7 separate regions of the Homo sapiens genome follow, and all the other regions are linked to region 1. Evidence: promoter capture Hi-C in 16 types of primary human blood cells and fetal thymus (Javierre and others, 2016). All regions are on one chromosome and are shown on one strand. The core of a region is centred on a gene start or on the middle of the fragment in contact, and the rest is flanking DNA. Distances in the headings are between cores, read along the strand shown. Region 1 holds the start of ZNF275 (zinc finger protein 275). Region 2 overlaps CETN2 (centrin 2). Region 3 overlaps ZNF185 (zinc finger protein 185 with LIM domain). Region 4 has its middle 14 kb from the start of PNMA5. Region 5 has its middle 6.1 kb from the start of PNMA5. Region 6 holds the start of DUSP9 (dual specificity phosphatase 9). Region 7 has its middle 28 kb from the start of PNMA3.

Region 1 (3,933 bases), core at 862-3,361:
GTGTCTGTGTGTGCCTTTTTCTGTATGTGTGGGTGGGAAGGCATCTGTTTCCTCTCACTTTGCCTGGGCACCTGTCTCTTTCTGTTTGGGTTTCTATCTTATTTCCTTTCTATAAAAAGCCAGAAGGTAGACCAGAAGGGGATTTTGTAGTGTTTGTTGTACTTAATTGAGGAAAGCTTTGTGTTCCCATTTCTCCAAGAAGATTCATGGCATCTTACTAAAAATCGAAATAAATTTTAAGTATAGCTTCCTTTAGGTAACATCGCCTGGATACAAAGGTCGAAATTGGGGGTGGGGTGGGATGCTATGCAAATTGCAAAGAGCCCAGGGCCATCCAAGGAGCCCAGGCAGGTTTGGGTAAGGGCTGGATCACTGGGTGAGAAAGTTGGTGTGGAGTTCACTAAGAACTCATGTGGGAGTTTCGCAGGTTTGGGAGAGACCAAGGAGTCTGCATTTTTCAACAAGCACCCCAGGAGATTATGATGCAGAGCTGCACCTCCTTAACACTGGGCCTGTCTAGAATCTGGAGGTTCCCAGATTCTCCAACTCTCAGAATCTCTGTTACTGACAGGATTCCTGCCCAGGAACCTGCTGAAATGGGAGCCCACTATCTCTGAGTCTGTGCTGATGGTTAGAAGAGAATTCACAAGTTCTGGTAGATTTCCAAGGGGTCCCTCACAGACAGAAGGCTGCAAATTACTGCTCAATAGGGTTCTATATATAAAACTCAGTGTCTGACCCAGTTCAGTACATCCCCCTAGTAACATTTTGTGGGGATGTACTGAACTGGGCCAGATACTGTGCAAGTGGCTTCTACTTGAAGGTCCAATGTTGCAGGGTTGGGGGAAGGTGAGGGTGGGGAGGGGCTGAGGCAGCATTAGTACCTAGGGGAGGTGCTGTTCCAGCAATCCCATCTGAAATTCTCTTGTAAAGGAAAAATGTCGGGCTGAGGTTGAAGAGGAAATGTTTCATTGACTAAGGAGACTGGAGGGGGCCGCATGCCCAGCTAGGTCAAGGCTGGCTGGAGGGCTTCAGTTGGAACAAGGTGGCAGGGTGGGACCTCTGGGAAGTGGGCCAGGAATGGGGGCAGGGGGTTGTTTGAAAGGGACCATGGACTTTGGGCGGCAGGCGAGTGGGGGGTGTGTGTGGAAAAGATATATAATTAATCACCCAAATATAGACTGGAGGAGCCAGCAAAGGAGTTTAAGGGGGCGGGGGCACTGAAGTGGGAGATGGCGGCCCCCAGTAGGGCGACAGAAAAAGACTGGTTCAGACAGAGGGCCTTGAGCTCGGCTCACCGCCCCCTTTCCCCTGCCTCTCCACAGCTCTCTCTCTAGGCTACCTACCGGCCCCCATTCTCCCCACCAAGCTGAGGCTTAACCGCCCCCCCCCACTCCCACCCACTCAAAAGGAAAGGAGGGACTCCCCAGCGGGAACTGTTCCCACCTGGCCCACCCTCCCAGCTCCCAGACTGCGGCTCAGTCCCTCCCCTAGACCAGGGAAAAGTCCTTTAACCCCCACCCCTACAATGCCCCCTCCAGATCGGGCTCCTAGGAGCTAGGGGCAGGGGTCCTTTCTCTCCGCCCCTGAGCGGTTCCCATCTCCTAGCGTCCCCCAAAGAGCAGAGCAGGCCTCTACACTTTAGCGATTCCCACCCGGGATCGCCGCCCCCCGCCCGCCTCGGGAAGGCCTTCGGGCCTCTTCGTACTCGTCATCCGGGACCCGTTCCCTGCTCTGGCCCGCCCAAGGCCGAGCAGCTCTCCAACTGCCCAGAGACGCCCCCTCCCTCCACCGTGCACTCTTCTGCGGCCCGCACACTCGCTCCAGCCCCGCACACAGTCCTGCACCCCCTGCACATCCTCTCGCGGCCCTGCACGCTCACTCAGGTCCACACGTCCTCCTGCCGCCCCCACGATCACCTCCGCCCTGCGGCCCCTCCAGCGCCCCCCGCACATCCTCCCGCGGCCCGCACACTCACCCAGGCCCGGCGGCGGCCGACGCGCGGCCCTCGGTGGAGCGGCGCTGGCGCGGCCCAGGCAGGCCTGGCGTGGCAGGAAGCGCCACGGAGCCGCCCGTGCCCAGCCGAGCTAACAGCCCCGCGGCGCGTTTCCGGAGCCGTGAGCGCCGCCGGGGGTTCTGAGGGAGCGAGGCCCCGCCCCGGCCCCAGTCTCGTCCCCGATTGGCCCGGGAAGGGGGCGTGGCGGGAAGGGGGCGGGGTTTGGGCGGGGGCGGACTGGGCAGGCAAGTCTGATCAGCCTGCGGGGGAGCGGCGCGCGCGGGCTGGACGCTTGGGTGGAGGTGGGGAGGAGTGGAATGAGCGTGCGAATGAATGAATGAACGAGCGAACAAATCGACCAGCAGACGAAGGAAGGAACGAAGGAATGGAAGGGACCTCTCCCCCTTGGGCATCTTCAAGATGGTGGTGGGGGGAGTGAAGGGTCGGGAACTGAGGGCGAAGACTGGAAAGCCAGTATTCTGTATGAATGGAATCAGATCGTATGTACTATTGTGTGTCTGGATTCTTTCATTCAACGTGATGTTTTCAAGATTTATCTATGTTGTTGAATGTGCTATCGCTGAGTAGTATGCTATTGTTTGGATATATCAGAGTTGGTTTGTTCATTCACCAGGTTATGATCTGGGCTGTTTCCAGTTTGGGCGATTATAAATAAAGCTACTATGAATATTCATGTACACATCTTTGTGTGGACATATGCTTTCATTTTTCTTGGGCAAATACCTAAGAGATGAATTGCCACATCACAGGATAGTTTTATGTTTTATAAGAAACTGCCAGAATGTATTCCAAAGTGGTTGTGCAATTTACATTCCCACCAGAAATGTATGCGAGCTCCTTTTCTTTCCCATCCTCATCAACATTTGAGGTTGTCAGCCTTTATTTTTAGCCATTTGAAAGGGTGGGAAGTGGCATCTCATTGTTATTTCAATTATCATCTCCCTGATGACTAATTATGTTGAGTATGCTTTTATGTGCTCACTGGCCATTTCTATATCTTTCTTTGTAAAGTGTCTGTTCAAGTAGTTTGCCCAATGTTATGTGCAGTATATATATATGTATATATATGTGTGTGTGTATATATAGAGAGAGAGACAAAAGAGAAAGCTAGCCCATTATGTGCAATGTGTGTGTATATATGTGTGTGTGTATGTATGTATATATATATACACACACATGTAGTTCCTGAGAAATTTTATGTTTTCAACTTTCATTTTAGATTTAGGGGGTACATGTGCAGGTTTGTTGCCTGGGTATAGTGTGTGATGTTGAGGTTTGGGGTACGAATGACCCTGTCATCCAAGTACTGAACATAGTACACAATAGTTAGTTTTTAAACCCTTGACCCCTCCTTCCCTGACCCCTCTTGTAGTTCCCATTGTTTGTTGTTCCCATCTTTATGCGCACGAGTACCCGATGTTTAGCTCCCACTTATAAATGAGAATGTGTGGCATTTGGTTTTATGTTCCTGCATTAATTCACTTAGGATAACAGCCTCTAGCTGCATCCATGTTGCTGCAAAGGACATGATTTCATTCTTTTTTTATGGCTGCATAGCATTCTGTGGTGAATGCCTACCACATTTTCTTTATCCAATCCACCACTGATGATCACCTAGGTTGATTCCACGTCTTTGCTATTGTGAATAGTGCTGTGATGACCATACAGGTGCATGTGTCTTGGTGGTAGAATGATTTATTTTCCTTTGAGTATATACCCAGTACTGGGATTGCTGGGTCAAATGGTAGCTCTGTTATAAGTTGTTTGAGAAATCTCCAAACTGCTTTCCACAGTGGCTGAAATAATTTACATTCCCATCAGCAGTGTATAAGTATCCCCTTTTCTCCACAGTCTCTCCAGCATCTCTTATTTTTTGACTTTTAAATAATGGCCATTCTCACTGGAGTGAGATAGTG
Region 2 (3,933 bases), core at 929-3,428, 510 kb after region 1:
GGGGATGCTTTAGCTTCTTGGAGAAGGCACGAAGGTGCCAGATGGATTGAGTTTTATTACTCGGTACTGACACAATATACATCTTAACAACTTACTAATATTTGGCCAAATCTAGAAGTAATTGGGAAGTCGGAGTACTTACTGGGAAGGGGAGTACTGGGAGTGGGCATCGTAAGACTGTTTTCAGAACCAGGATCCCCACGTTCGGGAAGAGCTGATTATCTCTAGTTATTCACAGTCATCTTCTTGACTGGCTCTCTTTTGGGATGATTTTCAGTAAGAGGTGTCCTTACTGAACAAGTGATCTCCCTGCTTCTAGAAACAACAGTAAAGAAAAGGGAGGGGTAGAAGTTCATGGAAAGATTCATTGTTCTTGCCAGTAAACCCTGTTATCTTTCTTTTTAAGCAAAGCTTTGGAATTGGTTATATAAATGACTTTAAAAATACATATGGGTGTCTGTAACTATGTTATGTAAATATGGACTGTATGATATATTATTGTGCTTGTGTATTGCATAACATATAAAGGCCTCCAACTTTAAGAAGGCAAACATGGCATCAAGTTCTCAGCGAAAAAGAATGAGCCCTAAGCCTGAGCTTACTGAAGAGCAAAAGCAGGAGATCCGGGAAGCTTTTGATCTTTTCGATGCGGATGGAACTGGCACCATAGATGTTAAAGAACTGAAGGCAAGCTCTGTGCATTCCTGCCGTACTGCCCTTCCTTTCCTCTGCCTCTTCCTTGTCATCTCCCTATCACCTCTCTACCCCTTTTGCCCTCTTCTCCCTGCAGTAAGTAACAGGGGAGGTTGTACTGTGCTGTTTTCCTGTCTTTACTTACTTTGAGTATTATTCAATAAAATTGATTGCAAATATCAATTAGATCAATGTCATAGTGTTCCCCAATCATATTAACATGACCACATCAGATGCTGGCTTAATGCTCTCAACACTGTTATTTTTGCTCCTGCTACTTTAGATGTGCTTATTGAGACGATCCTGTTTTCTTTATAGGTGGCAATGAGGGCCCTGGGCTTTGAACCCAAGAAAGAAGAAATTAAGAAAATGATAAGTGAAATTGATAAGGAAGGGACAGGAAAAATGAACTTTGGTGACTTTTTAACTGTGATGACCCAGAAAATGGTAAGTAGCTAAGACAATTATCATGGTATGGAGCCCCAGTCATCTGCAGAGGTCCATGGCGTCTTCCTGTTAAAACAGTCATGTGACCACAGAGCAGTCCAGGTAGCAACTGCATCAGGAGGCCTGCCCTCCCATCATGTTACTTTGGGCTCCCAAAACAAGCCCTTGTGCTTCTTTCTCAAGACTTCCAAGCAGATACCTCTTCCCACAGAATTCCAAATCAGTTAGGAAATAGATATGGGATAGGGAGAGATATAGCGATAGGTAGCAAACGTCACCTTGGATGGAGTGCCTGGCTTGCCTGGTGTTTCTTTGAGGCCAAAATGGGCTTCCTGACACTTGCCGCAAGTCTAGACTCGAGTTACATTGTTAAAAAGGAAAGGGTGACCTGACCAGGCAGTGGCAGGGCTACAGGACAGTAGTAACCAACCGTGGTGTCCCCCTACTCATGTGTTTTATGTTCTACTTGTTAAGTCTGAGAAAGATACTAAAGAAGAAATCCTGAAAGCTTTCAAGCTCTTTGATGATGATGAAACTGGGAAGATTTCGTTCAAAAATCTGAAACGCGTGGCCAAGGAGTTGGGTGAGAACCTGACTGATGAGGAGCTGCAGGTTTGTAATGCATCACACTGGAACTTAAAATTCCCACCTTTGAGCCCTCTGTGACTTTTCCATTACATTTTCCCTAGTGTGAGCACCTCTTTGAAGAAAAGCCAGTGTACTTTGTCCCTCTGCAGACAACTTAATTCTCCTTTAATAGTCAGACAAACCTATGAACCCTGCTTCCAGAAAAATGCACATATGCACAATTTTGCTTACTATTTTAGGTTCCAGGAATCCCTCTAGTCAAGGCAATCTTCAAGGTCCCTCCCAGGTGATATGTTTGACAAAGTATGAGTTGGTTTTCAAATAACTTTTCAGAAACCAAGCTATTATCAGGAGTAGCATACTGGCATTGGGTGGACTACAATGATCTATTCACATAGATACAAATTATCTATTCACATAGATTAAAAGTCTATTGCTTGCCAGGCACAGTGGATCATGCATATAATCCCAGTACTTTGGGAGGCTGAGGCAGGAGGATCTCTTGTGGCCAGGAATTTGAGACCAGTGTGGGCAGCATAGAGACCCCATCTCTAAAAAAAAAAAAGTCTATTACTTAGTCACCTTTTGGCATTAGTTTATAAATTAACCTGAATCTTTACTGTCATATAGGAAATGATTGATGAAGCTGATCGAGATGGAGATGGAGAGGTCAGTGAGCAAGAGTTCCTGCGCATCATGAAAAAGACCAGCCTCTATTAAGATCAGTGTCTTCTTTTTCTACTGCAAGCACATGTAACTAGATTTAGTGCCTGCCATGGTGTGAAATCTGGCTTTTGAGAACACAAACTTTTCCCCCACGGACCTCCCTTTATCACTTTAATAGTGACCTTGAGCCTATTTTAGCCGTTTGGAAGTGTTCTTTGATATTACAGTTCTTTGTAAAATGACCTGCGAATTACCCTAATTCTCAAAAGCAAAACAAGAGCACACAAGCGTGAAGAAAAGGATCTTAAAGCTTTGAGCACCTGCCATTTTGCCTTGCATCGTTTCCCTCGTCATGCATTTCCACATATCCACAAACACAGAACGACTTTAGACAAGCACATGTTACACCTGTGTTGCCACAAGCAGTCATTCTTGACGGCTCCAGTTTTTATTTGACACTTGAGTTTAGTTTTCTCTTTTATAAACCCAGTGAACTCCTGCACTGGCATTTGGATGTGTGTTAATGCTATTTGTTTTGTCTTAAAAGTAAAACCTTTCTCAGTTTGAACTTGTATTCTCTAAGGATGAGTTCTTTAGCTTTGCTTATGAGTTCCTCTTCTCAATTATTGTGTTGAAGGCAGCCTATTAGATACAAAACTCCTTACCAGCCTATGGACAGAAAATGAATAATCCTTTGCTACTTTCCTGGCATGAATTGCTTTTTGCCTTGGAAGGCTGCTGGTTTGTAAAACTAGCAGAATTTTTATATCACCTAAGCCTAAATGATGCTCTAAAAATAGTTTTGGCAAAGCTAAGACTGGAAAAGAGTCTTGTTAGTAATTTGTGCTTGAATAAAATGGGGAGAGCCAGGCTAACGCAACACTAGGATGGATTCAGCCAACCTCTCGTGAATTTATTTGCTTATGGTATCTCATCGACTCTTGGAGGTGGGTTGGGCTGAGTGACCCCATCCAACCATCTTCCTGGCCTTGCCCGGGATTCCCTGTGTGAGAAATCCTGGTAGATGACATTAAAGTCTCTGCTCCAGGGTGAGAGTGGGGAGGCAGAAGGGGTGAGGGAGAATAGAAAATGAACAATGATGGAATGCTCGTTTGTTCACATGGAGAGGGAGAAAACAGATTTTCAAACTTCTGGGGGTAGGCTAGTCCTCTGGGGATAGGGTTGCCTGATTCAGCTAATAAAAAGAAAGTTGAGGTAAATTTGCATTTCAGATCAATGATGCCTTTTTTTTAGTATGACTATATCCCATTTGTATTTTTTGTTTATTCATTGTTGATCTTAAATGCAAATTTACCTAAGCATCCTGTATTGCCACTGGTAACCCTACCCGGGGAGCACGTTACAGAGGCCAGAAGCCTGGCCCTCGGTCTCATGCCTCTGGACCCTGACATCCTGTAGGACTTGGGGGCCCAGGAATATGAAGTTTACCATATCCCCCAGATGAGTCTCATGCCGAGGGACTGCTCCTTAAGAAAAACTTGGGGGAAGAGCCCAGACTAGCCCAAACCCTGGATTCTC
Region 3 (3,933 bases), core at 458-2,957, 400 kb after region 1:
CAGCTGTCTCCACGGAGCTTAAAACCTGCTACTGGGCCGGGTGCAGTGGCTCACGCCTATAACCCAGCATTTTGAGAGGCCGAGGCAAGAGGATCACTTGAGCCAGGAGTTCAAGACCAGCCTGAGAAACACAGCTAGACTCCATCTCCACAAAAATATTTTTGAAAGTTAGTCAGGAGTGGTGGTGTGTGCCTGTGGTCCCAGCTACTTGGGAGGTTGAACCTGGAAGGTTGAGGCTGCAGCGAGCTGTGATGGCACCACTGCACTTGAGCCTGGGCACACACAGCAAGATGCTGTCTTAAAAAACAGAACCAAAAACAAACAAACCCTGCTGATTGACAGATTGGCCAATTATCAAAACTTCATTACTAATAGCTACTGTTTTTTGTTTTTTGTTGTTGTTGTTTTATAGCTACTGTGCTGGGATTACAGGTGTGAGCCACTGTGCCTGGCAATAGCTACTGTTGATTGAGCATTTGAGCCTGTTCTCGTGACTTTATATGCATTAACTCTGCAAATCAACCCCAGGATATGGGCACTGTTATCACCCATGCCCATCTTTCAGATGAGCAAACGGAGGCACACAAAGCCCCTGTGATTTGCCCCAAATTTCACAGGTAATAAGAGGAGTAGCTGGGATTTGAGTTCTGGACTATATCCCTGATCCTAATCTCCTAATTTAAGCCCCCTTCTGTTCTCCTTCAGGTCCTCAGGGAGCCCCATGTTGTCAAATCCAGGAGAGACAGTCCCATCATTATTTCAAACCACCATTCAGTACTGCTGACCCAGTGGGCCACTCCAGCCTTCTCACCACCCCTCCTCCCTTGATCCTGTCAACACCACCTGCCTACCTCCCTGGCCACACACCTTCCTGGTCTCCGCCTTTTTCTCCTCCCTTTGGCGTGCTCCACCACTTGCTGGGCTGTCTCCTCCCCTCCCAAGGTGTCAACTGCCACCCTTGAAGCAGGGATCTCCACTTGTTCCTGCCTCTCCTTTATACTGGCCTGCACACCCACTAACTCCCAACTGGCCCTCAGGAGGCCCACTCTCAACATGGCGAGAAGAGACTGCCCTCGCCCAGCTGTCCCCAGGAGGGCTGGCCAGGTGGCTGCCACCTGCATACTGAGGTCGGTGCCCAGCTTCCATTGGCTCACCATGAGCCCCATGTAAAGCTAGTTTACGCTCATGATTTCAGCTCTATTCTGTCTGCATATAACGTGGAAATCTCTTGAGCCCTAATCACTCTCTCAAACCTCAATCACAAACCTTAAAATACCTCCCTCCTGGAAATTTTGACTTCAATGCCTACGAATAAACTCGTCAAATGAGTTCACTCAGCAAATGCCAAGTCTTTCCATCACCCCTCTCTGTCCCCCTGCTCCCTGCCCCAACTAGTACAATGAGCTATGGTGCAGAAGGTGGAAGGTGGGAGTAGGGCAGGCTGAGCGGATCTGCCTGCTCTGGACCATGTGACCTTGAGCAAGTTACTTAACCATTCAGGGTCTCAGTTTCTTAATCTGTAAAATGGGCATAGTGATTGTATCTACATCCATGCAGAATGGATGCTGCCATGCAGAATCGACAAGCCCTCAGATGCTGCCTGGGGAAGAAACTCAGGAGAAGGACATGACCCAGAAGACAGGACATTTGAGGTGGAACAGAAAGATGAAGAGGGGAAAGGGCATCTCAGGCAGAGCCTCCAGCCTGCACAGAGAAAGGCCCAGGGAGGGAGGAGCCTGCAGGTGGGGCCAGGTACTGAGTTCAGGCTGCAGAGCATAGTGGGAGGGGCTTTGCAGGGCTTTCTGCAGGGGGCTGGCATAACTACTTCTGCCCTTTGGAAACATCACCCAGGTAGATGTGGAAGGGAGTCCAGGGATGGGACAGTAGGAAACGGTCGCAGACAACTGGGTGAGTAGCAGTGGAGGCCTGGGCCAGGGGCAGAGCAATAGGGATGGAAACATCTCTAAAATAAAGTGGACAGGACTTGGTGCCTTGGGGGCAGAATTAAAGTGGGAGGAGCCAAGGAGGAGGGTAAAGGGACCTAGAGATCGCTCAGGACTCATCTTGGATGTCAATTCCTCCAGGAAGCCCTCCCCAAGCACTCCCACCCACCACACTGTTGAGAGGCCTCTGCTCGAAGTTCCTGCCACCCCAGGGATTAAGGGATGACCTTCAGTGTACACTCCCGCTTCTCTCCCCAGTCCCTGGCCTTCACAAGGTAGGGGCCCAGTCTCCCTGCTCGGATCTCTCCTAGCCTCCACCCCAGCCCCCGAATCCTGCCTGCATGTCACCTGGCTGTCTGACCCCCACCCCAGGGCAGAGGCTGAGCCCCTCGTGCTCCCTGCTGGTTGTGGCCTCCTTGACCCACCCCTCCCCAGCACAGAGCCTAGTGGCATGGAGAGCTGTGGACTCTGACCCAGTGACCCCACTCTATTCCCAGTGGCCCTCTCACACAGGCAGGGCAATGGCCTCAGTGGCCTTCACGGGCTCCTTAGACCCAATCCTCCTCCCACCCCCACCAACATCCCCAGCACGGCTGACTGGTCCCATCTTCAGCAATTGGCAGGGTTGAGCTGTCACTTCCCAGGGGCTCCTGGCACACAGCATCTCTGGCTGACCTCATTCATGCTCATGTCGGCGTCTGCCTCCCCCACCAGGCAGATGGCAATTCCAGCCAGGGGGTCCTGTTCACTACTGTGTCCCAGGGTCGGGCCTGTGCCCTTACACAGACTAAGCGCTTGCTCCATAATGGTTTTCTGAGTGAAAGAATGAGATGGGGCAGAAAACCCAGGTCGACCATGCCTCCCATCAACCTGTTGGCCCTACAGTGGCAGAGCCGGCCCTAGGCCTCATCATTTGCCACCTGAGGCTGCTGCTTCCATCTCTAGAATGGTGTCCAGGGAGCCAGGACAGCAGCAGGACCCCCATACCTCATGCCTTCCACGTCTGGGGCCACCAGGCGGAGTCCTGCCCTGGGTGTCAGGATCTGCAGGCGGACAATTTCCTCACCTCTTGAGCTGCGGGCCAAAGGAGAGACCCAGTGGGTTGCAGGTGAGAAAAGTCTCCCCCTTCTTGGGCTGGTGAGTGCGGTGGGCCGCCCAGACCCACTGCCCCCTTTTGATGTGCTCTCATCTCCTCCTTGGCCTTGAGCCTTGTTGGTGCTGCAGCTGAGCTCGGGCCACTGACCTGTAGGCCCCTTCCCCGGTCTCCCACCCCTGACCTGAGCCCAGCCCTCCCTCAGGCACAGCAAGGGCCCTTCTGGGTAGAAATGAAACCTCCCAACCCGTGCTTCTACCAACCATTTGCAGGGGCAACCGCAGCCTGTGACCCCACCAGGGTATCCAAAGTGGCCATTTGTGAGGCCAGGGGTAGTTCTGCATTCATGGACTGGTGGGGACTGAGGGGTACGAGAGACTGAGAAAACCCACAGACCAAATATGGAATGAAAACCAGTGGGAGGGGATGTCGCAGACTCGGGGATGAGGACAAAGGGCCCCTTTGAGCTTTCCTCTTGCCAGCCACGCTCAGAGCCCTCCCCCAGATGACCACAGGCCACCCCGGACACACATCCCTCCAAGTCTGATGCATTCTCTGGCCGTACTGCAAGGCATGACGCCCAGCAGGCTTGGCCATGGTGTGGCCAGGGCCAGAGAGAATATAGAGCTCCCAGGCTTTCTGGGGGTGGACCCTTCACCCCAAACCAGACCTCCTTAGGTCCATGGAGCAAAGCCTAATTCCAAGCCACATTGCAGTCACTCCTGCCTTTGTCCCTGGGCCCTGGAAGTGCAGACAAGCCTGAGCCCCAGGCCTGCCCTGGTGAAGCTCTGGGCCCAGCAGGGTCAGGCAGGGGCAGAGAGGCATGGAAACTGACCTTGCTGTGCTGCAGGGCCCAGAACAGGTTTAGCCATGGGAGCAGTGGACAAGCTTCATGGA
Region 4 (3,933 bases), core at 526-3,025, 350 kb after region 1:
TTAAAAAGGTAATTAAAGTTAAATGAAGGCATTATGGTGGGCCCCATTACAATATGACAGGTGTCCCTATAGGAAGAAGAAATTTGGACACACAGACAAGGAAGATAATGTGAAGTAAAACAGGAAGAAGATGGCCACCTACAAGCAAAAAAGAGAGGCTTGGAACAGATTCTTCCCTCACAGCCCTCAGAAGGAACCAAGCCTGTTGACACCTTGGTCTTGGACTCCTGGCATCCAAAACTGTGAGAGAATAAATTTCTGTTGTTTAAGACTTTCGTTTTGTAGTACTTTGTTATGACAGGCCTGGGAAACTAACACAATACCCCTTCCCCATAAGACTTAGTTAGGACTCAGGAATGCTCTCCTTGTTTACCTATGACACGGACAGACACAAACCCTCCAAATTCCCATTTGCATTAATCAGAGCACTCCAGAAAAGCAAAACCAGTAGGAGCTGATAGATATATTATTTTGGGAATTGGCACACATGATTATGGAGGCCAACAAATTCTATGATATGCCATCTGCAAGCTGTAGAATAGAGAAAGATGGTGGAATAATTCAGTCCAAGTTCAAAGGCCTGAGATCCAGGGGAGTTTATGGTGTTACTTCTAATCCAAAGCTAAAGGAGTGGGGAGCGCGGCCCATTGGTGTACACCTTGGAGTCTGAAAGCCTTAGATCCAGGAGCTCTGATGTCTGAGGACAGGAGAAGATAGATGTTTCAGCTCAAGAAGAGAGAGAAAGAGAGAATGAGCGAGCGAGAGAGAGAGAGAGAGCGAGAGAAAGAATTTGCTCTCCCTCCATCTTTTTGTTCTATTTGGCCCCTCAAACAACTGGATGATGCCTTCCTACACTGGTGAGGGTGATCTTTATTCATTGTACTGATAGAAATGCTATCTCTCCTGGAAACACCCTCACAGACACACCCAGAAATAATGTTTTTACCAGCTATCTGAGCATCCCTTATCCCAGTCAAGTTGACACATACAATTAACTAGCACATCCCTCTACCTCTCACTCTGTTCTTCTGTTCCACTTCATGGCAAAGCTCAGACTTGTCTATGCCTACCACCCACACTTTCTCAGCTCCCATGCTCTCCTTGATTCTCTGAAACACTGGTTTCACCCATTCTGCTACTGAAAGGACTCAACAAAGTGACCAAACAACCTCAATCTTGATGAATCCAAAGGTCAATTCTCTGTCCTCATCTTATTTACACCAACATCTCAGTAGATTTTGACCCAGGTGACTATTCTTCCCTCATGAAGCACTTTTTCCCCTTGGCTCCTGGGATACCACATGCTTCGGGTTTCCTCCTACTTCACTGGCCTCTCCTGATAGAGTTTTCTGATTCCTCCTTCTCTGCTTGATTCTCCGCAGGACTCAGTGCCCTGGGTCCTCTTCTCTTTACTATCTACATTCACTTCCTTGGTGATCTCAGCCTGTCCATGCTTTCATTATCATTGGCAGGCTGCTTCTAAGCCCAGTTCCCTCTTAAGCTCTAGGCTTATATGTCAAAGTGCCTAACCCACATCTCCACTTGGGCAACAGAACATCTCAATACCAATTTTCCTAACACAAAACTCTGGCTCCCAAGCCACACCATTCAATCAGTGCCAAACTGCTCATAAGCTCACCCAAGATACTGGCATCACCATCTACCCAATTGCTCTGATTCCAAAACTAGACTCAGTTTGTCTTCTTCTCTTTCCCTCATAGATTCATATTCCATTATCAGCAAGTACTGCAGTTCTACTTCCAAATACATGTAAACTCCATCCACTTCTATCTCTACCACTGCCATCATTGTCCAGGCCACCGTCACTGATACTTGCAGTGCAATAGCCTCCTCTCTCTCTCCTCTTGCTCCTCTATAGTCCATTCTCCAAATATAACTCATAGTGATTTTTAAAAATCAGAAATCAAATGACATCATTTCTTTGCTCAGAAGCCATGGATGGCTTCCCATATCACTTAGACTAAAACTCAAACTTCTAACCATGGCCTGCAAACCCTACATGATCTGGCCCCCACTCTGCTGTGTGTTTACCACCCTCTAGCCCCGCTGGCTAGTCCCTCAAACACACCTGGCTCTTAATCTTATCTCAGGGCCTCTGCCCTTACTGGCCCCTCTACCTGGAAAACTTGTGGGAATGGAAATATTCTAGGCCTGTGCTGCCCAACAGGGTAGTCTCTAGCCATGTGTGGTTACTAGGCACTTGAAATGGAGCTAGTGTGACTGAGAAACTGGATTTTAAAAATGTATTTTAGTTGATTTCTATTTAAACACAAGTAGCCTAACGTGGGATGTGGAGACCATATTTAGCATGTGGAGACCAGAGCTCTAGCTCGTTCTGCTTTATAATTTTACAGAACTTGTCTGAAATCATCTATTTTATGCATTCATTTAGTCAACATTTACTGAGCACCTACTATGTGCAGGGCACTATTATAGGCACTGGGAATTCAGCAGTGGAGCAAAAGGACAAAAATCTCTCATGGAGATTTCATTTAAGTAAGGAAATACAAACAATAAAATAAGAAGAAAACATGTAGTATGTTAGATTGTGATAAGTGCTACAGAGAAAAAGCAAGGAAGCAGGTATAAGGAGTGTTATGGGTGTGCACAGAATTTTAAATTGGATGGTCCATGAAGGTGATCAGGAAGAAGGTAGCATCTGAGCAGAGATGTGAAGGACGCAAGGGAGATGGCCACGTGGGCATCTGGGAGATGAGCATTCCAGGCAGAAGAGACAACCAGCACACAGCTCAAGGCCAGAGAATGCCTGGAATGGTATGAGTAAGAAGGAAAGGTGGTGGGGGCTGGATAAAGCAGCACCTGCTTGGCCAGCCACCTTGAGGACTCTGGCTTTTAGTCCAAGTAAAATGAGGCCTGGGGAAGGTATGGAGCAGAAGAGGGATGTGATCGGATTGAAACTCTTCACTCTTGCAGCCATGCTGGGGTACACTTCAGGGTGGGAAGGAAGGAAAGATGATTGCTTAGGTTATTGTAATCATCCACATGGGGGATTAGGGGACAATATGTTTATGGTGAAGGTGGGGAGAAATGGTTTGCCTCTGGATCTGTTTGGCAGGGAGAGTTAACAGGCTAGGCTGATGGGCTGGAAGTGCAGTGGGAGATCAGCAGGTGATGTGTAGGTTTTGGTCTATGCAAGCTGAAGAATGGGACTGCCATTTACGGAGCTGTGGATGGCAATGCATAGAGCATGGCTTCCATGGTTGAGTATGAAATGACAATTAGACTCCCCAGGTGGAAATGAGCTGTGGGAAGTTGAAACACAAGTCTGAAGTTCAGGAAGATGATGTGGGCTGGAGCAGCTGCAATTCCAGAAGGAGGCAGTGTATACTGTATCTGTTGAAGCCTGGACCCCAGTGATACAACGCAGTGAGTGCAGATAGAAAAGCGAAGGGGTCTAAGAACAAAGTCCTAGAGTACTCCAAAGTTGAGAGAATGGGATGATGAGAAAGAACCAGCAATGGAGATAGAAAAGGAGTGACCAGTGAGGTGGAAGGAAAGGCAGAATGGGCCTAGAGGCCTAGCAAAGGGAATGGACCTGATATGGTTTGGCTCTGTGTCCCCATCCAAATCTAATCACGAATTGTAATCCCCACACGTCAAGGGAGGGAGCCATAATTCCCACATGTTGAGAGAGGGAGGTGACTGGATAATGGGGGCAGTTCCCCCCATGCTGTTCTCGTGATAGTGACTTCTCAGAGATGTGATGGCTTTATAAGCGTTGGCATTTCCCCTGCTTGTACTTCTCTCTCCTGCAGCCTTGTGAAGAAGGTGCCTGCATCCCCATCACCTTCTGCCATGATTGTAAGTTTCCTGAGGCCTCCCAGCCATGTGGAACTGTGAGTCGATTAAACCTCTTTCCTTTATAAATTACCCAGTCTCAGGTATTTCTTT
Region 5 (3,933 bases), core at 986-3,485, 330 kb after region 1:
GCTCCAATATCAATCAAGAAATCAACTTGTCTTTTTCCCACCAAAGAGTTACCCAGGGTTCCAGGCAGGAGATGGGGATGCAGCCTCATCCACCTATTGTACCCCCTGAGACCCCATCACTCTCTTGGATACCTCTGACAAAAGTAAAGCCTTTTCTTCTTTCCCCTGGGATTGCCTTTTTAAACTCAGGAAGTCCTTTTCCAATGGTCCTCTTGTTTACAATATGCACAATGCTTGGGCCCCATCTATGGATCGCCTTTCTGGAGGCCTTTCTTGTTTCCAGGGGTGTCTACCTTCTCATTGGGCTTCTTTACTTCAAGTGCTGTGAACAGAGCAGCAACCAACAAAGATGCCTGTTTTTCCATCCTCTGTTGCTCTTTATGATCCAATGCTTGATCTCAGTTTTTGAACACCTTAAAAGCAATCTATACAGTTAAGAGATAGACATTCCAAAAACACTTTCTAATTTTTATAGCTTTTTCTGAATGCCAGGAGTGCTTTGACTAATAAAAGTTATGTTAATTAATCTGAGGTTCTCAGGGGCCTCAGGATCTATCTCAGTTGACATTGCCAGGAGGCTTCAAAAATTATCTCCAAAAACTTTCAGATGAGTTTTCATTTGGCCTCTGTCACATTTCCTGAAATTTATTAAAGCTACACTACTTTGAGACCCCTTTCCTCAGGACTGCTAAAATTCAATCTCTTTAATGCTTGCAATGAGCTTGACTCTCATGATTTGGATCCTATCAGGATCTTGCACATGCCAGAATGCCCAGTCCCTTCGTTGGGACAGGACGTGTTAACTAAGTTAATTGCCACAGTAACCTTTGCTCTGGGAAAATTGGACATTGAGGTGCCACCAGAACAAGCATGTGAGCTCCAAGATGCCCTTTTTGACCACGGAGCAGGAAAACACACCACCAATATTATTGAGAACATCTTAAAGCCCAGACACTTGGGCCAATGGGAGGCTGGGAGGAGCTAAGACTGCTTGTGTTAGGCTATAGCCTCAGCAGTAGCTGCCCAGACCAGATTGCTGGCAGTCTCAGTATGTTACTGGTCAGCTTCTTCTCTAGCTTTTTCTAAAACTATTCTCCACTCTTTGGAGGTAAGTAGTGCATTTTGTAAATATTGCACATTCTCCCAGTTAGGATTATGAGTAGTGTAAATGGAGAACACATTTTCCATCCTCCTTGGGTCACCCCAGTAGGTAAGCATGTTATCCTTCCAATGGTATAGGTCAGAGACTGAGAATGGCACGTGTACCCACACAGGTCCCGCTGGCTGACCCTGGGCATTGATTCTGCCAATGGGTACTTGCCTAATGGAATTGCCCTACCTCAACCAGAGTGGCTCCCTGACGATATTGAGTGCCCTGTCAGGTGTGTGAAGGAGAGAGCACTCCTGGCCTGTTTACGTCACTATTATTCCCCAGTCCAGCCAGGGTAATAGGGGCTCCCATTCCTGCCTGAGCAGGGGGGCGGGGCCATTGCTCTGGCTTCCATATCTCGCCCCCCATAAGGTGGAGAGATAGGATTGGTGCATTCATTTGTTGAAGTAGTAAGTCATCTTCTGATTTTTGAGAACCGGGTAAAACCTTTACCTCTTTCACCTTAGAGGCATTTCTTTCAACCATGATTCTATGCAAATTATACCTTCTTTGAATTAGCTCACTTTGGTACAAAAGCATAAAAGCTTGTACATTCAGAATTTCATCCCATTTACCTTCTTGTTCACAAAACAATTCTAATTGAAAAATTATAATGTAATTTAGATATCTAAATTCTGGCTACCATTCCCTGGATCCTAGGGGATACCGTGGTCAGGCAGAATTTCAACATTAAAAACATTTTTCTTTTTCATGGGCTCAAAGCTAAAAATGGCCCGATTCTGCAGAATGCACCATAATGGGCTACAAGGAGGAACATAATTTGTAGTTTCCATTTTAGATGACAAGACCTTAGGTGAAAAACCCTTAATGCCTCAGCTGGGCTTTAGGCAGATTGTCAAGCAAGCAAATCAAAATCAAAATGTGATTTCTCAAAGTCTCCATCCCTTCAGTTGCTTATGGAGTATTCCCTACTAAACACACTATGATGAAGCAGAGTCCCGTAAATTGCCAAAGCAAGGCCAGATGTCCTGCCAATGCAGAACGTAGTGTTTGAAGAAAATATACCTTGGGGCTATTGCCCACAAATTTGTCACCTGCCAAAAAATGTCTTCCCAGCCAAGTGTCTCATTTCTAATGCTGCAAAAGTAAAAGCAACACAAGCCAGTGATGCCTTGGTGGCAGCCAAATACACAGATCCATCCCTGAATAAAATAATTCAGGCAGCTACTGGACAGGGTCCAAGGGTGCTCATAGCCAGGGGCTGATATGCTATTGGCAAGACACCCACTCAGGGCTTTTGAGTTGTGGCCAAGTGTTATTGAACTGAACTGGAGTTGTCTTGCCCATCACAGTAAGATCAGATATCCACACTGAGGTTTGCAGTGGTGGAAAGGAAGACATTTATTTGCAGGGCACTAAGCAAGGAGGATCAGGCAGCTAACGCTCAAATCCAGAGCTCCGTGATGGCTTGCAGGTAAGGGCTTTTAAAGGTAGGAGTAAATTTCAGGAAAGCAGAAGTTACAGGCTAATTCATAAATCATTACACAGAGGTTACCCATTGGTTTTGGCCTAAAAGGGTGGGATATCTTGAAGTGAGGGCTTACAGGCCATAAGTAGGTTCAAAGGTCTTTTGGTTTGCAGTTGGTTAAGCAAGAGAAGCTTTGTTTAAAATTTTTGGGTCAGCAGAAAAGAATATTAGCTCTGACAGATGGATGTGATTTCCTCCAGGCCCCTCATGAAGAAGTTTGGAACAAAGAGTGGTGGTCAGAGTTCAGTCCTCAGCTCCCCCTTTTCTGGGGTCTGCATGCCAGCTGATCAGTTTGGTGGGGATCCAAGTTTCTGAAAAACAACTCAGAGATATATGTTAACATGTTATCTTTAGTTTCTATAGGGAAAGAAAACATCCTGTGATTGTAGCTTCCTTGGCTGTTGTTTTAAGCTATTACCTTCTTGCTTATCAACTTGCTTATTTACTTCTCAGGGCTAGCTAGGTGCCTGGCATTGCCCCTGAAAGAACTCAACATTTTCCTTTATTTATATGCTTAAGGGGGCCTGCAGACCCCTGAGACGGGGTCCCTGCTCCATCTCACTTTCCTCATTGTGTATTCTTGGCAGCTTTGTTGAAAATTAATTGTCCATGTATGCTACTGTATGATCCAGCAATTCCACTATGGATAGATATCCTAAGCAAATAAAATCACTATCTCTAAGTGGTATCTGGACTCTCTTGTCCATTTCAGCATTATTCACAATAGCTAAGATAAGAAAACAACCTAAGTGACCACTGACAGATGAATGGATAAAGAAAATGTTTTTTATATATCTATATTATATATATTATATATAATATATATAATATATTATATATAAATGTCTTATATATATTTTTATATAATATTTAATATATAATATAATATATATTATATAATATATATTTTATATATTATATATATTATATATTATATATATATTATATATAATATATATAATATATATTTATATATATTTTATATATAATATATATAACATATATTTATATATATATTATTTATATATATTATATATATATTTTATATATATTATATAGTATATGTATTATATATTATATATATTATATATAATTTTCTTTATTATATATATTATATATAATATGAATATACTATATATTCATATCATATATTATATATTCATATTATATATATAACATATATATGTTATATATATAACATATATATGTTTTATATATGTTTTATTTATATATATATATATATATATTCACAAGCAGCCTTAAAAAAAGAAGGAAATGCTGCCCTTGGCAATAA
Region 6 (3,933 bases), core at 670-3,169, 310 kb before region 1:
CCCAAAGGGAACACAAAACCCAGCAGCTTGGTGTGTCCTGGTACCCACGTGGGGCCCTAGCCACCCTCAGTCAGCTCGGGCTGCAAGAAGCTGGGCTCACGCTGAGCCACCGGAAAGGATCTTACACCCCTAGGGTCAAGCTGAGGCAGGTGTGAGGGCTCAACAGAGCCGAGATGCACTGCCAGCCTTAGGGAGGACTGCGGCCATCAGCTAAAGAAAAGGAGGAACTCAGATGTCAGCTCTCTGCCTGGGCATCTCCTGACTCTCAGGGATGAAGTGGGACCCCAAGATGTGGGGGAACTTGGGGGAGAATATGGCTCAAGAAGCCAGCATCTCTATTTACAGATACTATTTCCCCGGGCTGGACACCTGACACTTTATATGCTGTTCGGGAGGCTAAGGCAGGAGGATCGCTTGAGCCCAGGAGGCTTCAGTGAGCCGTGATTGCACCAGTGCTGTCTGACCCCTGCCTCCCTTGCTCATTCCTGAGCAGGTTGGGGAGGTGGGGATACCCTTGCCGAGACCCTGGGGAGCCCGCACTTTGTAATTCGTTCTTGAGCATCCTGAGAACTAGCTCAGGTCAGGCTAATTCTCCCCATTTTCCAGGCTCAGAGACTGGGCTGCCGAGGGTGAAGAACTTCCCCACGGTCACACTCAGGCTTCCCTCCTCTCAAAGCAGCCTGGCAGGTCATCAGGGGAGGGGGGCCTCAACTCGCTTTAGAAAAAAAGAAGTGGGGCTGGCCTAAGGTCAAATGAATCCCGAACCCCCTGGAAGGAGGGCCCCGCGGCACCTACCCTGGAGGTAGTAGGCCAGGTAGCCTTCCTCTCGCAGCTTCTGCAGCAGGGTGCCCAGCACCGACTCGGCCTCCCACTCCTCGGCCTCGGCCTCGGCCTCCCCGCGCCGGCGCCGGCCCCCGCCCTGGTCGTACAGGAGCACGGGGGCAGGCGGGGGCGGCTGCAGCGGCGGCCCAGGCAGGAGCGCGCGCACCGACAGGCTGCCCCTCCGCAGGCGGCGCAGCAGGAGCGCCGGCAGGGCCACGCTCAGCGCCCCACCGATGCGCGCCGACTCGTACAGCTCGCGGCTGCGGCAGTCCAGGAGCAGGAGCCGCGGCCGCGGGGGCGACAGCTCCCGACGCAGCCACAGGCACGAGCGGCCCAGACCCTCCATGGGCGATCGGCTCCCTACACGCTGGACCACGGGCGCTGCGAAGAGAGAGAAGGCGCGGTGTGAGCTACCGGAGGGCCGAGGGGGCTCAGACTTGAAGCCGGCCCCGCGTCCTGAAGGCGGGAGCCCAGGGTCCCCCACCATGAGGACTCCCAACAAGGCGCCCCAAGAAACCCCCCAGGCAGCAGCTCGGCCCGGGGAAGGGTCCTCGAGAAGAGGGCTGAGCGGCTAACCGCCCCTTCGAGGCTCATCTTGGGGTACCCTGAGGTCGCAGCCGCCTCCCTCCATACCCCCTTTCTGCTCCTGTCTCGGTCTTCTCGCGAACGCTCCCCAAGTTCGAGCTTCCGACTCTGGCTGGGGGTGTGCGTGCGAGGAGTGCCGTTCGAGGCCTAGATCTCCCCCAGGGCCAGGTGGGCCAGGGGAACAGAGGAGGCGCCGAGGTGCTGGGCCTCAGCGAGTCCTCTCAGAGGTGGTCTGGCCCCCGGTCCCCCATCTCCCCCTACCCCTAGGAGAGAACAAAAGGAAAGAGACCTGGAGCGAGATCCGGCGGTGGACGACCGCGCGTGGACGTTCTGGCCACGGCCACTGCCACGGCGGAACGCGAGGCGCCGTCCCGCGGCAGAGAGTCCCCAGGCCTGGCCGCCAGGAGAGGGCGGGGCGGCGGTGCAGGCTCGCACGTGGAAGCCGAGCCCCGCGCAGCCCGCGCAGCCCGCGCACCGGCCGCTTCCTGGCAGCCGGACCCAGCTTCCACCTTGGAAACTGCCTTCGGACGTGGAGTTACAACTCCGAGGGGCGGGCCGGGGCGGGGCTCCGGGGGCGGGCCCGGCGGGCCGGTGAGCCAACGGGTGCTAGCCGAAGCAGTCGGGTGGGACCTGCGAGTCGGCTGAGCTGGGGCTTCCACCGAGGCGGGACGGGGTCGGGGCAGAGGCCAAGGGCAGGTCAGGGGCCCAGCAGGGGACCAGCTGCGGCTCCCCTGGCCGGCGCCAGCCTGGCCTCGGGAGGCAGGGGGAGGGGTGAGGACCAGAGCCCAGCCCCTCTGCCGCAGAAGCTGCCTCCAGCCCAACTCACAGGGTGATACTGGAGCATCTTCTCCCCTGCCTGGATCTCAGTGGCCCCATCTCTGTAATGGGCTCAGAGCTAGCAGCTTGGGCAAACTTGGGATGCCACCGAAATCACGGAGGGGAGGAGGAGGCAGGACCAGAAACTTAGTGCAGCTTTGGCCCAGAGGTCTGCTGCAGGGCTAGGCAGGCAGGGGTAGCTCCTGGATACCTACCAATACCAGCCCGCTTCACTCGCACAGGACTGGCCAAAAGCACCCAGGAACCCTGAGCTCCCAGCCCTAAACTGGGGCACTCTGCTCTTATCACATTACTGATCCTAAGAGTCACCCGTGGCTCCCCCCTCTGCCTCCTTCCCTTAACCCCCCTTCGGCTAATCAAAGTGGAAAGAACTAGTTTCTACCTAAATATCTCTCACATCCACGCCTCTCTCCCCTGTCCCTTGCCCTAGCCGAGGGCTCAAATTCATCAGCTTTAGGCCAGGTCACTGTCACGTCTTGCACAACAGTCTCCCTGCCTCCGGGCCTGCAACGACCTGCCCTCCACCCTGCCCTGCCCAGCCCTGCCCAACGTCAGAATGCCATCCACTCAACCAAGGCTGGTGGCCTCCATCCTTTCCTCCATGGGCACAACAGGCGGGACAGATCCACAGGCAGCAAGAGCACTGGACAAGGTCTCAGGTGTGGTGAGCACTGAGGCAGGAGACCAGGGTCAGGGGGAGGTGTCCACAATGCTGATCTGGCTAAAAGTCCCTTCTCTGCTTAAAGCTCAACAAAAGCAAATAACAGTGTTGAAGGAAAATGTACGCCAGATAAGATAAAGCTCATACCCAACTAAAAGGTTAAGACCCCTGTAGATAAATGGGCAAAGAACCTGAAAACACTGCATACTGCAGGAAGGAGGGAATGCGGTGGCCTAACAAATATTTGGGGGAAGGTTCAACTTCAGGCGTGGAAGGAAAGCCACTCCAATAAACAAGTAACAATGACCAACGAGGTAACACTTCCCACCTACTGCATTAGAAATGTTCTCATTTTTGAGAACACGCAGTGCTGGCAAGATTGCTGTGAAATCAGCGTGCTGTTCAACTGTTGCAGGGTTATATATTGGTACGGCCCCTTTGGAAATTAATCTGGCAATATCAAGAGCTAGGAAAAAATCCCAACCCTTTGACCACTTTTGGGAATCTAAGGAACTAAAGTAAAAGAAAGCAAAGTTATGCACACGAGGATGGGCACCACAAAGCATTTTTCTAACAAGTGGAAAATGCAAAGCAAACTACGAGTCTAAAGACTCCTCTCAGGAGCCATGGAGTTAGAGGAGAAAATGTCTCAGGTCATGGTTAGGTAAGAGGGCAGGTGACGGAAAGCTAGGTGGGTCACCTCTAAGGGGCTTCCAGTTTGCCTCTCTCCCTCCCTTTCGGGCAGTGGGCTGCTAGCCGGGGACTCCCAGGACCCTGGCACTGGGCTGCTTTCCGGCCACACCCCCCATGTCCCTGCGTCTAACAAGAGTCCTAATTCCTGCATCCAAGGGCTTTGGGCAGCTGGACTGTGCCCTTCCTTCTCTCACCCAGTGGGCAAGGGCCCCAGCCCAGGCCTCCCTCCTATGCCCCCTGCCCAGATTCTGAGATTCTGCTCATTCTTCAGGCCCCCTCCTCCAGGCAGCCTTCCCAACTCGGAGCCAGTAGTCTCCCTCCTCTGTGCTCCCTAG
Region 7 (3,933 bases), core at 704-3,203, 310 kb after region 1:
CAGGGTCAGCCTGGCTGGCGTCTTCCTGGGCTGAGGAGGCCTGAGCAGCATCTCCACAGGCAGGAGCTGCCTGGGCGGCAACTGGATCTTCACTTTCCACTGTGGCCACTGGCCAGGCCACAACATGCTGGCTCCTCACTGGGGAGGCCGCCCACGCCTCCATCTCCTGGATGAGCTGAAGCAGCCCCAGGAAGTAGGGCGGCCTCCTCTCCAGTGCATCCCCCTCAGGGTATTCTGGAGTGCTTCGCCAGGGCAGGCCTGAGGCTGCACCTACCGCAGTCACAGGTGGTTGGCCAGGGCCGGGCAGACGGCCCCCTTCTCCAGGGCCATCTGCAGCAGGCCTTCCAGGCATACCAGGAAGGCAAAGGGCCCCTGCGTTCAGGTCAGGAACTTCAGCCTGGAAGTCATTCGAGGGTCCCGGTTTCCAAACGCCTGCCCCAGCACCGCTGCCCAGCAGTCCAGCAGCGCCTGGCAGTCCAGTGCCGCCAAGTTGGGATCTTCCTCTAGGAGGCCGCTCACAACGTCCAGGGCTGGGCCACCCAAGCTCTCCAGCAGCCATCTCTTCCTCTCCCTTTCCGACGCATGGTACCACAGCTGCAGCATATCCTTGGCGTGCTCCATCCAGCTCTCAAAGGACTCTTCCTCGCAGCCTGGCTGCTCCCTCCCTGAAAAGGGTCTCAGTTCCTGGTAGGCCCTGTTTTCCAGCACAGCCTGCAGGGTGCAGCGCCGAGGCTGGACCCAGGCTCTTGTTACATTTGTCCCTCTTGCCTCACCCACAGCTCCTGCCTCACCCGCAGCTCCTGCCTCACCCACAGCTCCTGCCTCACCCACAGCTCCTGCCTCACCTGCAGGTCCTGTATCACCTGCGGCTCCCTCATCTGACTCTCTTGCCTCTTCTGCAACTCTCAACTCATCTCCAGCTCCTCCCTCACCTGCACCTTCTGCCTCACTTGCAGATCCTCCCTCACCTGTGGCTTCTGCCTCACCCTTACCCACAGCTCCTGTTTCACCTATGGCTCCTGCTGCACCTGCAGCTCCTCCATCACCTGCCTCTTCTTCCTCACCTGCAGCTCCTGCCTCACCTGCAGATCTTTCCTCATTCACACCTCCTGCCTCACCTACAGATCCTGCCTCACCTGCAGCTCCTGCCTCACCTGCACCTCTGGCCACTGCTTGCCCCTGGGGCTATGCAGGGAAACTGGGTATATCCTGAAACTCAGCATCAAGGGCCTGGGGCAGGGAGATCACTTTCCAGGGTCCCCCTTTGCCTGCTATTTGGCGGGGAATCAAGCTTTGGTTTAAACCCTCAGCGAATTCCACCAAGGCTGCCCTGGCCCCGAGCTCCTTTCTGAAGACCTTGATGAGCACTCGGTACCTGCCCAGGGGCGACAGGGCAGCCCGCACGGCCTCCTGGAACTCATGTTCCTCGCAGTCGTCAGGGATATCCAGGATGAGCAGAGAGCGCTCTGCGTTCACACCCATCCTCCTGCACCAGTCCCGAAGCATCGCCAGAGCCATCGCAGAGGACTTGAGGGAGGGAGCCTGATCAGACAGGAATGTGTGCTGACTGTTGCAGTCTCTGACGCAGCCTGTGAGTGCAAAGGGGAGAGAGGGACGTTGCTGCCAGTCAGCCCACCCCCACCGCACAGCCAGAGACCAGCCACTCCCAAATGCAGGGCCTGAAGCATCTCCCCTGCCCAGTGTCACAGCCCATGCTCCCCCACCCCTACTGCTGCAGCTCAGAGTCCTTCACTGCACCCCCCACCTCCACAGCAGGAAGCGCCTCTTTCACCTGGTGAACAGCCCCTGATCACAAAACTTACAGCTGGAGCCCCTCCAACCATCATGTGCAACCCTGCAGCTGGATGTGCCCACCTCCTCTTTTTCCCAGCACTTGACCAGGAGCCCTCTCCCTAATGCCATCCTCCCTGCAACCTGGCAACCCCCTCCCACGCCTCCCACATCAGCAGCCAGGAGTCCCCTTCCCCCACAGCCAGAGCCCCTCTCTCTCCCATCGTCCCCTTCTGTAGCCAGAGGTGCCCTGCAGCCAGGAGCTCACCCCACCCAGACTCCTGCAGCAAGGAGACCCTCCTCCCCTCTCCTCAGGCTCCAGACCAGGACCCGCTGTCGCACCTACTGCCTGGGGGGACAGCGATCTGGCTCCTGCCCAGTGTGCCCTCAGCCACTCTGGGGTCCCGCTGGTGCCTGCTCACTGTCTGCAGACACTGCAACCACCCACGGGGAAATGCCACCTTCAGGCTGTGGAGCCCACTCTGGAGGCCGCCTTGAGGCCCTGGAATGGGAAGGTGGAAGATCGCGCCCCAGCAGCCCATCTGGGACTGCACAGGGCAGGGATATCTCAGGCCAGCTGTACTAAGGGCACGTGGGCTTCCAACTTCTCCCAGAAGCCTCAGATAGATGAGGGAGAAAAATCTCAGAGTCTCTGTGGGAGGCAAATAGCTAAACAGGGGGAGGCATCCGTGTTGCCCTGGGATCGGGACCTGCGCGGTAAGGGCTTGATGTGCCTCCGGGGGCAACAGGCCCAACCATCAAAATGGCCTAGTGGAAGTGTTGAGAGAGAAAGGGGATTGGAAACTGGCAGAGAGGAAGCTTATGCTTAGGGGCAGCGTCTGGAAGCTGGGAGTTGGTGGACAGCCAGGTACTAGGACTCCAGACTAGGTCCCCCAAATCACTACATTCACAGGCCTACCTCCTCATTGCAGGAATCTCCACAACAGGAAGAGGCTAGCTGTTCCTGACTCAAGAGCCTCATCATAGTTCTTAGGCTACAAAGCCAGCCTTCACCACCTAGGAAGCCATTGCATTGGAAAGAGTGTGTACGGCCTTTGGAAGCAGGCAAAGCTGGCTTCACCTAGCAGCTGGGTGGCTTTGCACAAACCACTGAACATCTCTGTTTCTCATCTGTAAATGAGCAATAAGAACATTTTTCTTGCAGGGGAGTCATGGAGCTTTACCTTCTATTAGACACACGGTAAGCCTTCAGTAAATAACCACAAGGGCACAGGAATGAAAAAGGGTGGTGTGGCCAAGAATGGTGTGGGTATTGGAGGCTGGTTGTGGCAGCCAGCTCAGTGGTCCCAGGTCTGAGCTCTGAGAAAAAGCAGGATGTGAGTGGGAACATTGGAACCATTTTCCTGAGGAATGCAAGGATTGGCCAATGTGAAAATATGACTTTCTGTTTCTGCAGGCCTTGGTCAAGAGAGGCATTTGGGAAACTCAGCCAGTCTCTGCCATGTCTAGGACTGGCTACCCATCTGGCCAGCAGCTTTGGGAGTTTCCTGAGAGTGAACCCTTGATGCATCCTTGAGCACTGCTGCACAGGCACCACTGCCCTCACGTCACTTCCCCAGCCACCAATAGGAACAACAGGAAGAGTAAGAGAGTAAGGGTACGAGGGGCAGAAGCAGACCACATGTGACAAAGTGTAGGTGAGGGACTTGCCTGTGAACTCTTGTAGTAGATTTATATATATATACACACATATATACATATACATATACACACATATACACATATATATACACATATATATACACACATATATATACATATACATATACACACATATACACATATATATACACATATATATACACACATATATATACATATACATATACACACATATACACATATATATACACATATATATACACACACATATATATACGTATATAAAAATATATATATAAATCTCTCTCTATATATATATAGAGAGAGAGAGAGAGAGTAGAGAGAGAGAGGGAGAGAGGGAGGGAGAGAGAGAGAGAGAGATGGAGTCTTGCTCTGTCACCCAGGCTGGAGTGCAGTGGCGTGATTTCGGCTCACTGCAAGCTCCGCCTCCTGGGTTCAAGCGATTCTCCTGCCTCAGCCTCCCGAGTAGCTGGGACTACAGGTGCGTGCCACCACGCC

What was found. Contacts are between HindIII fragments. The CHiCAGO score rates a contact against its expected background, and 5 or more counts as called.
Region 2: a fragment that was not itself captured here is called in contact with the fragment with the promoter of ZNF275 in region 1 in 1 of 17 cell types (monocytes); the score reaches 7.0 in monocytes.
Region 3: a contact is called between a fragment that was not itself captured here and the fragment with the promoter of ZNF275 in region 1, in 4 of 17 cell types (M0 macrophages, activated CD4 T cells, total CD4 T cells and 1 more). The highest score is 7.6, in M0 macrophages.
Region 4: a fragment that was not itself captured here is called in contact with the fragment with the promoter of ZNF275 in region 1 in 1 of 17 cell types (total CD4 T cells); the score reaches 5.8 in total CD4 T cells.
Region 5: a fragment that was not itself captured here is called in contact with the fragment with the promoter of ZNF275 in region 1 in 7 of 17 cell types (total CD4 T cells, M2 macrophages, M0 macrophages and 4 more); the score reaches 8.6 in total CD4 T cells.
Region 6: a contact is called between the fragment with the promoter of DUSP9 here and the fragment with the promoter of ZNF275 in region 1, in 2 of 17 cell types (neutrophils and activated CD4 T cells). The highest score is 7.9, in neutrophils.
Region 7: a fragment that was not itself captured here is called in contact with the fragment with the promoter of ZNF275 in region 1 in 1 of 17 cell types (total CD4 T cells); the score reaches 5.2 in total CD4 T cells.

What each region holds. Positions count from the first base shown.
Region 1 is chrX:153,332,331-153,336,263 of GRCh38, reverse strand. It overlaps ZNF275 (zinc finger protein 275), which reads right to left and starts at 2,111. Exons shown (of 4, transcript NM_001367757.1): 1 at 1,979-2,111. It overlaps MIR12129 (microRNA 12129), which reads right to left and starts at 802; the gene lies at 727-802. RefSeq lists silencers at 1,778-1,857, 1,948-2,317. The HindIII fragment of the contact is 4,020 bases long and covers 179-3,933 here.
Region 2 is chrX:152,826,356-152,830,288 of GRCh38, reverse strand. It overlaps CETN2 (centrin 2), which reads left to right. Exons shown (of 5, transcript NM_004344.3): 2 at 529-687; 3 at 1,012-1,140; 4 at 1,615-1,752; 5 at 2,359-3,295. The coding sequence ends at 2,448. Among named protein-coding and RNA genes, the nearest start is that of CETN2, 2.4 kb to the left of the region's middle. The HindIII fragment of the contact is 1,056 bases long and covers 1,651-2,706 here.
Region 3 is chrX:152,927,659-152,931,591 of GRCh38, reverse strand. ZNF185 (zinc finger protein 185 with LIM domain) reads right to left here. Exons shown (of 25, transcript NM_001395254.1): 13 at 2,931-3,017. LOC105373372 (a long non-coding RNA gene) reads left to right here. Exons shown (of 3, transcript XR_007068369.1): 2 at 1-617; 3 at 706-1,337. Among named protein-coding and RNA genes, the nearest start is that of ZNF185, 32 kb to the right of the region's middle. The HindIII fragment of the contact is 4,438 bases long and covers 1-3,926 here.
Region 4 is chrX:152,978,401-152,982,333 of GRCh38, reverse strand. No RefSeq gene overlaps it. Among named protein-coding and RNA genes, the nearest start is that of PNMA5, 14 kb to the left of the region's middle. The HindIII fragment of the contact is 5,734 bases long and covers 1-3,933 here.
Region 5 is chrX:152,998,287-153,002,219 of GRCh38, reverse strand. No RefSeq gene overlaps it. Among named protein-coding and RNA genes, the nearest start is that of PNMA5, 6.1 kb to the right of the region's middle. The HindIII fragment of the contact is 1,075 bases long and covers 1,698-2,772 here.
Region 6 is chrX:153,645,189-153,649,121 of GRCh38, reverse strand. DUSP9 (dual specificity phosphatase 9) reads right to left here and starts at 1,919. Exons shown (of 4, transcript NM_001318503.2): 1 at 1,697-1,919; 2 at 796-1,203. The coding sequence starts at 1,168. The HindIII fragment of the contact is 18,543 bases long and covers 1-3,933 here.
Region 7 is chrX:153,026,370-153,030,302 of GRCh38, reverse strand. It overlaps the pseudogene LOC112268308. Among named protein-coding and RNA genes, the nearest start is that of PNMA3, 28 kb to the left of the region's middle. The HindIII fragment of the contact is 1,319 bases long and covers 1,294-2,612 here.